3 separate regions of the Homo sapiens genome follow, and all the other regions are linked to region 3. Evidence: promoter capture Hi-C in 16 types of primary human blood cells and fetal thymus (Javierre and others, 2016). All regions are on one chromosome and are shown on one strand. Each heading gives the region's core, a stretch centred on a gene start or on the middle of the fragment in contact. The rest is flanking DNA. Distances are from core to core; before and after follow the strand shown. Region 1 overlaps LOC124904413 (a long non-coding RNA gene). Region 2 overlaps OTUD7B (OTU deubiquitinase 7B). Region 3 holds the start of OTUD7B (OTU deubiquitinase 7B).

Region 1 (2,700 bases), core at 178-2,677, 35 kb after region 3:
TACTCCTTCCAACTTCATAAGGGTGAAAAATAAGAGTTTAAAATATGAAGCAGAAACAAGATGTATTAGTTACCTGTGAAAATAGCTCTCTGATTGTGTGCCTTTAAATTGGCAGGGGAAAAAAAGAAACTCAGTTTTAAAACAGAAAACTTATATATCACTATGTCTATATACTTGTTATAGCCAACGTCCCTAAACAGAAAATTGTTCAGTGGTGCAAGGGAATTAGTAATAATACCAATAATTATTAGATTCAGATTTCAAATCCCATATGAAAATAAACAATATTATTTGTTCTTAAACTAAATTTTTTTTTTTTTTTGAGATGGAATCTTGCTCTGTCACCCAGGCTAGAGTGCAGTGGCATGATCTCACCTCACTACAACCCCCGCCTTCCAGGTTCAAGCGATTGTCATGCCTCAGCCTCCCAAGTAGCTGAGATTACAGGTGTGTGCCACCGTGACCGGCTAATTTTTTTGTATTTTTAGTAGAAATAGGGTTTCACCATGTTGGCCACGCTGGTCTCGAACTCCTGACCTCTAGTGATCTGTCCAACTCAGCTTCCCAAAATGCTGAGATTACAGGTGTGAGCCACCGTGTCCAGCCAGAAAACCTTTGTGGAGGTGCTGGGGATTGACCCAGGGCCTCATGCATGCTAAGCGTGCGCCCTACCACTGATCTACACCCCCTTTAATTCTTAACATCAGAAATATTATTCAACAGACACATATCAGAGTTGAGGGAAATTATTGGAAAATTGAGACCAAAAAAAGCATACAGAAAGTTAATTTATTTTCTAGACAGAACTCTGCTAGTATTAGAATCAAATACTTTTAATTAGATAGTAATTTACTTGCTTTCTTGTAACTTATGGCCATCTTCTCTAGTCTGTTTGTTACAGTCCTACACATATTAAATAGCAAAAACAAACTAATTATATATTTTGCATGATCAGTATGTTACAACATTAAGATCAGACTAATAATACAAGTCACCTACTCCATTGCCAATTTTTATACTCCCTGCAATCTTACAGCACATCCTCATATGAACAAAAAGCCTTTATATTTATCTTACAGAGGATATAAACATCAATTTATAAAAAAGAGACACAAGCCTTATATAGTTAAAAGTAATATAATTAACATGATTACAAAAACATTTCTAATAAAGCAGAGGAAATAATTATATTGCTTGTAGTTCTAGTAAGAGTTTATTGAACCATTAAAAATAATTTCAAAACAATAAAATACAAAGGCAAATATCCAAATAGTTTTGTATGGATCTAGCATTCACTTTTCCTTGATCCAACCTAGTTTTAATTCCTATGGCCTACAGGATGGCTTAGATAAGGAAGAAGCTAAAAATTGGCTGTTACAGAGTTGCAGTTGTGTGGCATATGGGTGATCTACGTAACTGAAGTTGAAGGGAGAAATGCAATCTTCCCCCAAAACCTGCTTTTCCTTCAGTCCACTGTCACAATCCTGAGTCCAGCTACTCTCTCAACATCTCCATCTCCCTGGCTAAAACCTCCCATCTCTCATCTGGGTTGTTGTAAAGCCTCCTAACTAACCTCACTTCTTTTGCCTTTGCCTGCTATGATTAATTCCCAACCCAGTAGCCAGACTGATCCTCTCCTCAAAGCTCTCCAGTGGCATTTTTTTTTTTTTTTTTTTTTGAGACAGAGTCTTGCTCTGTCACCCAGGCTGGAGTACAGTGGGGCGATCTCGGCTCACTGCAACCTCCACCTCCCGGGTTCAAGTGATTCTCCTTCCTCAGCCTCCTGAGTTGCTGGGACTACAGGCGCATGCAACCACACCTGGCTAATTTTTTTTTTTTTTTTAGTAGAGACGGGGTTCCACCATGTTGGCCAGGATGGTCTCAATCTCCTAACCTCGTGATCCACCCGCCTCGTCCTCCCAAAGTGCTGGGATTATAGGCGTTAGCCACCACGTCTGGCCTCCAGTGGCATCCTTATTCAAAATAAAAGTAAATATCCTAGGGTGGGCATGGTGGCTCACGCCTGTAATCCCAGCACTTTGGGAGGCTGAGGCGGGCAGATCACTTGAGGTCAGGAGTCCAAGACCAGCCTGGCTAACATGGCGAAACCCCATCTCTACTAAAAATACAAAAATTAATTGGACATGGTGGCAGGTGCCTGTAATCCCAGCTACTGGGGAGGCTAAGGCAGGAGCATTGCTTGAACCCGGGAGGCGGAGATTGCAGTGAGCCAAGATCATGCCACTGCACTCTAGCCTGGGCGACAGAGCACAGCTCTGTCTTGGAAAAAAAACAAAGTCAATATCCTCACAACTAGGTCCTACACCAACTATTCCCCATTTTCCATCTTCCGCTGTCAATCACTCAGCTACCCTGGCTGCTTTGCTGTCTTATGAACAGCCCACTCCCACCTCAGGGATTTAGCAATTGCTCTTTCCTTTATCCAAAAAACTTTCATCTGGATTACATGTATCTTATTCCTTTAACATCCTTCAGGTTTTTGCTCAATGTTCATTTTTCAGCAAATGATTCCCTAACCACCACATTTATAACTGCAAACCTTATGCATCTCAACACTCCCCCCAACCTCCTTCTTTAAACTTGTTTTTGCTCTATAGAACTTACTACCACATGATTACTATATATTATGCTTATTTTGTGTACTGTCTGATTGTCCTCACTAGATTGTAAGAGAGATTA
Region 2 (2,781 bases), core at 2-2,501, 52 kb before region 3:
GCCTGGGTATCACCAGTGGAGGCTGCAGAACAGCAAATATTGCAGAACGGCAAATGTTGCTGCCTGATCCTTTCTCTGGAAGCTTCATCTCAGAGGGGCACCCGGCTGTATAAGATGTCAGTCAGCCCCTACTGGGAGGTGTCTCCCAATTAGGCTACTCGGGGGTCAGGGACCCACTTGAGGAGGCAGTCTGTCCGTTCTCAGATCTCAAACCGCGTGCTGGGAGAACCACTACTCTCTTCAAAGCTGTCAGACAGGGACGTTTAAGTCTGCAGAAGTTCCTGCTACCTTTTGTTCAGCTATGCCCTGCCGCCAGAGGTGGAGTCTACAGAGGCAGGCAGGCCTCCTTGAGCTGCAGTGGGCTCCACCCAGTTCGAGCTTCCCGGCCGCTTTGTTTACCTACTCAAGCCTCAGCAATGGCGGACGCCCCTCTCCCAGCCTCACTGCCTCCTTGCAGTTCTATCTCAGACTGCTGTGCTAGCAGTGAGCAAGCCTCCGCAGGCATGGGACCCTCCGAGCCAGGCACGGGATATAATCTCCTGGTGTGCCATTTGCTAAGACCGTTGGAAAAGGGCAGTATTAGGGTGGGAATGTCCCGATTTTCCAGGTACCGTCTGTCACGGCTTCCCTTGGCTAGGAAAGGGAATTCTCCAACTCCTTGTGCTTCCCAGGTGAGGCAATGCCCCGCCCTGCTTCGGCTCACGCTCCGTGGGCTATACCCACTGTCCAACAAGCCCTACTGAGATGAACCCGGTACCTCAGTTGGAAATGCAGAAATCATCCCTCTTCTGCGTCACTCATGCTGGGAGCTGTAGACTGGAGCTGTTCCTATTTGGCCATCTTCAACACTTGGTCAATCTTGTTTTACTACACCTCAGATCTATTTACCTACCTCCCCCATCACGGGGCTACCACCAGAGAATTTTGAAGCAAATCCTGGACATTATATAATTTCATCCATTTTTATTTTATTTCAGTTTCTATCTCTAAAAACATAAAGGACTACCTTTTTTTTTTTTTTTTTTTTTTTGAAATGGAGTCTCACTCTGTCGCCAGGGCTGGAGTGCAGTGGCACGAACTCGGCTGACTACAACCTCTGCTTCCTGGGTTCAAGCAATTCTCCTGCCTCAGCCTCTCGAGTAGCTGGGATTACAGCCGCCTAGCACCACGCCCAGCTAATTTTTTGTATTTTCAGTAGAGACAGGGTTTCACCACATTGGCCAGGCTGGTCTCGAATTCCCGCCCACCTCGGCCTCCCAAAGTTCTGGGATTACAGGCGTGAGCCACTGCGCCTGGCCAGGACTACCTTTTTAAACAACCACTATACCATTAATATCACATTTTATAATTTTAACAATAATCAAACACAGAGACATTGTTCACATTTCCTTAATTGTCTTATGATGTCCACACATCCCAACTGGTTGATGTCTTTTTTTTCTTTTAGAGACAGAGGTCTCTCTTTGTCACCCAGGCTGGAGTGCAGGGGTGCTGTCACAACTCACTGCAGCCTCGACCTCCCCAGCTCAGGCAATCCTCCCACCTCAGCCTCCCAAGTAGCTGGGACTATAGGCATGCACCACCATGCCTGGCTAATTTTTTTTTTTTAAGATGTGGTCTCACTGGCCAGGCATGGTGGCTCATGCTTGTAATCCCAGCACTTTGGGAGGCCAAGGTGGGTGGATCACTTGAGGCCAGGAGTTTGAGATCACCCTGGCCAAAATGGTGAAACCCCGTCTCTAATAAAAATACAAAAATTAGCTGGGCGTGGTGGCATGCATCTGTAGTCCCAGCTACTTGGGAGGCTGAAACAGAGAATCACTTGAACCCTGAAGGCAGAGGTTGCAGTGAGCAGAGATCACACCACTGCACTCCAGCCTGGGCAACAAAGTAAGACTCTGTCTCAAAAAAAAAAGAAAAAAAAGAAAGAAAAAGAAAGGGGGTCTCACTATGTTACCCAGGCTGGTTTCGAACTCCTGGGCTCACACGATCCTCCTGCCTCAGCCTTTCAAAGTGCTGAGATTACAGGTGTGAGACACCACACCCGGCCTGATATGTCTTTTTAGTCCATTTAAACCTACAAGTTCCTGGTCCCTTTTTATTTTCCTTGCAGTTTACTTACTGAAGATACTGGGTCATTTGTCCTGAAGTTTCCAAAGTCTAGATGGGCTACTTTATATTCCAGTTCAATACCGAACTACCTGTAGTTCCTAAACATATCATGTTGTTACACACTTTTGTGCCCTTAGCATAGTTCCCCTCTTTCCTTCTAATATCCTCTTAGCACAGAGCTCTCTAGACACTGGGCTGTGGAAGCCCAGTGAGGACTCTATGCAGGTTTCCTCCTCCCCTACTTAGCCATACTTACCCACCACAGTTGGCTCCATTGGTACCTAGATGCATTCGGGGTTCACTTGAGGCAAGCTTGATCAGTTCATTCCACTCCTTCTGCCATTCATCTTCTGTGTATACCAGCCCTGACTGTGTGAAGGACAGGCAGGGGACATTGGGCAATTAGAGGCTGGGTTCTAAGAGGCAATACCTATTCCACCTTATTCACTGTTACTTACTCCCTAATCCCTTAGCACTTGGTTTACAAATTGTACTACAAAGTCAAATCTCTTATCTCTTTTACAGTCAAGATCCATGAACTAATAGTCTATGACTATTAAACTTCTTTATCATCCATTCTTTTTGACCTACTGCAATCTGTCCCATTTCTGCCCTCCATCCTGCTCACCCACCTGCCACATAACATTTCACCTACCTGATTTTGGCAAA
Region 3 (2,775 bases), core at 129-2,628:
CTCTGTCCTTTTCCACCTTTGAAATAGATTCTGAAAGACAAAGGGATCCAGCCTCCTCAAAAATCTCCTAAATATACAGTACTAGAGGCCAAAGACTGAAAAATTAGCAGCATGTGAATTTCTAAGCAAAGCGTTACGTAGTACGTATAAAAAGATAAGGAAAATAAAAGTCAACGTCCTGCTAATTCTAGGCTTTGCATTCGTGAAAAGCTGCCTGAAAAGTTTGTGGGGAACTTCTTCCATAAAATTCCACCAGTCAGTTTCTAATTTCAAATTTTTACATCTTTATTGTGCCCAGAGAAGCCACCTAGGTTAGACAAGAAAGACTACCACGAGCGGGGAGAAAGAGACTCTGAGCGCTGGTCCTTGTGAGCCGACAAGCTAAAAATACGCCGGCCCAGTAAACAAATCCCATTCCATCCCGACCGGAGCCACACCGTTAACCTAGTAATTATGAGAAGAGTGAGATCACGCAGCCCCCGGCTTACTCATCATCAGCTTCTAAAGTTTCCATCGGCTCATGGCAACTTTTCTTTTTTCTAAAGTTCTTAAGACTGCCCTAGAATCCGTCAACCTCCGTCTCTCTCCCTCTCTCACACACACACACAAACACACACACACACCTTTTTCTCGCCTTTCCTCCATTACTGTATGCACCTTAGTTTGGCTATCAATAGGAAGAATAAGCTTATTTGCTTTTCATTTTAGTATTATATTGAGATTTTAAATGAACTTTATCCTACTGTGGGGATAATACACTGCATCTTAATCACCTTAAAACTCCACCATCCCTCCCGAAAGTCTAGCTGACAAGGGGGGACCGTCCAAACTGGCCAGCACAGCTCAGGAAGGGAGGCCGGGAGCTGGAGAGCGCGGGGTAGGAACGCAGGACGCAGGTGAAAGGGAGGAGGAAAGATCGGGACGAAGCAAGGAGCAGTCAGGGCGAGAAAGGAGTGCCGAGGGGAGATGGCTTCGGGTGAAACAGATTCAGAAAGGAGAAAGGGGACAGTGGCGATCTGAGGAGCAGAGTTTGCGAGTCTGAGAAGCCGGGAGGGGCGGGAGCAGACGGGGGACGGTGTCAGGACGGGGGGCTCCGTTACCCTCGCGGGCTCCCGGGGCAAGGCCCTAGGCCGGGGCGGAGCGCGGGGCCCGGCCGCCTCTCTTCATTCCTCGGCAGTGACCCCGGGGTCCGGCCGGCCCCTCCCCCGACGGCGATGGAGGTGGAGGCGGTGGTGGAGACTGCGACCGCAGCTGTTGCTCCGCACGGGATCTGGAGCTGGAGCCAGAAAGGACTGATCGGGACTGGCCTCCCCCAGTGGCTTTTTGCCCACTCCGCACCCGGTCGCCACTCCGGCTCCGGCGGCTGGTTCAGGATCGGTGGCTTTCTGCTGTCCGGCCGGAAACAGGCGCCAGTTTCCGGCCGGAGCGGGTTGGTGGTGACACCCAGGCCGCCCCCGGGCCTCCTCCCGCTCCGCCCCGTCGCAGCCCCGCCTTTAGCGCCGCTCCCCAGGCTGCGGCCAGTTTGGCGCTTGCCCCGCGCGTGACCCCGTGTTTTCCCGACCCGAGTCCCTAAAGCTCCTGGTCTGGAGCATTCTTGAACAGGAGTTGGAGGAGTACAGGGTGGACTCTTAGGACTCTGGGGTAGAATCAGTTGGCTACAGCCGTTGGGAAGGAGCTGAAAGGGGTGGAGTAGTTGTAGAAAGGTGAGAGAGATGAAAATACTTCAGAATGAAAAGACTGACATTCTAGTAACTCTACACAATCATTCTGGAGTGACCGGAGGAAGATTAGCTTCTTCCACACCAGTCTCCACCCAATTATATATTTCTCTTGTTCCTTCACTCTTGAAGTGAACATATCCTTCTCTGTAAACACTTAATATTTATTTACTTGCATAACAGTGATACCCTGTTGATACATCTGCTTTAGACTGCTAACAGTAAAAAAAACTTACATAGTGCGTTTGTTATGTCTTCTAGTGCGTTTGTTATGTCTTTTAAAACATTATGGCATAATTCAAATATGTATTGTATCCCTGTGATGTGTATCACTGCTCTCAGTGATACAGGGGGATACAAAAATTAACAAGACATAATCCCAGACATCAAAGGTTTTACAATTTAGTAAAATACATAAAACTATATTATATGTAGCAGAACTTGTATGTGTCCTACCTGAGTGACAATGAGCTATGGCTATGAGAACATAATAAGCCATCCTTGTCACATAGTAGACCTTCCATATTTGTTGAATGAATGAATAAGTATTAGGCCTGTGTGGACTGTTTCAAGAAAGAAAGGCCATTTAGTAAATACCTCTTTATGACAAACACAAAACGATGCCAACCCCGGCTATACTCTAACAAAAGACATTTGAAATTTTAATTCAGATTCCTAACATTATAGCACCTGGTCTGCATATTCAAAATAATGTATTGCCTAATTGTGCCCATTATGCCTATGTAAAAACAAATACTCTAGTCAACTTTTCTTTCCCCTCACTTCTTCCTCAGTTTCTAAAGGGGAGGCGTGGGGCATAGGCATTTTAGAATTGTCTAGCTCAGAATAGGAAACTGACACCTGAAACAGGGAAACTTCCTAGACAGCTATATCTCTTAGGGATACACCTGGGTTTACAATCGAAAATTTAGGGCTGGGCCCAAGGCTGTCCACACATGCTAAGGCCAAACAAGTCAGAGTGCCTTGCATGGGGGCATATCCAAGACATACAATAGAGGTTGACAAGTAAAGTCATTTGGCGTGGGCTTCAAGCGTA

What was found. The method cuts DNA at HindIII sites, captures the fragments that hold promoters and counts their contacts. A CHiCAGO score of 5 or more calls a contact.
Region 1: a contact is called between a fragment that was not itself captured here and the fragment with the promoter of OTUD7B in region 3, in 2 of 17 cell types (M0 macrophages and M2 macrophages). The highest score is 5.5, in M0 macrophages.
Region 2: a contact is called between a fragment that was not itself captured here and the fragment with the promoter of OTUD7B in region 3, in 1 of 17 cell types (M0 macrophages). The highest score is 5.4, in M0 macrophages.

Annotation. Positions count from the first base shown.
Region 1 is chr1:150,044,788-150,047,487 of GRCh38, forward strand. The region is part of intron 1 of LOC124904413 (a long non-coding RNA gene); the gene reads left to right. It also overlaps a transcript of OTUD7B not described here. Among named protein-coding and RNA genes, the nearest start is that of VPS45, 22 kb to the right of the region's middle. The HindIII fragment of the contact is 5,915 bases long and covers 1-2,700 here.
Region 2 is chr1:149,957,316-149,960,096 of GRCh38, forward strand. It overlaps OTUD7B (OTU deubiquitinase 7B), which reads right to left. Exons shown (of 12, transcript NM_020205.4): 7 at 2,369-2,481. Among named protein-coding and RNA genes, the nearest start is that of MTMR11, 22 kb to the left of the region's middle. The HindIII fragment of the contact is 2,342 bases long and covers 81-2,422 here.
Region 3 is chr1:150,009,348-150,012,122 of GRCh38, forward strand. It overlaps OTUD7B (OTU deubiquitinase 7B), which reads right to left and starts at 1,379. Exons shown (of 12, transcript NM_020205.4): 1 at 1,101-1,379. RefSeq lists enhancers at 124-1,006, 371-420 and silencers at 941-1,230, 1,491-1,540. The HindIII fragment of the contact is 17,924 bases long and covers 686-2,775 here.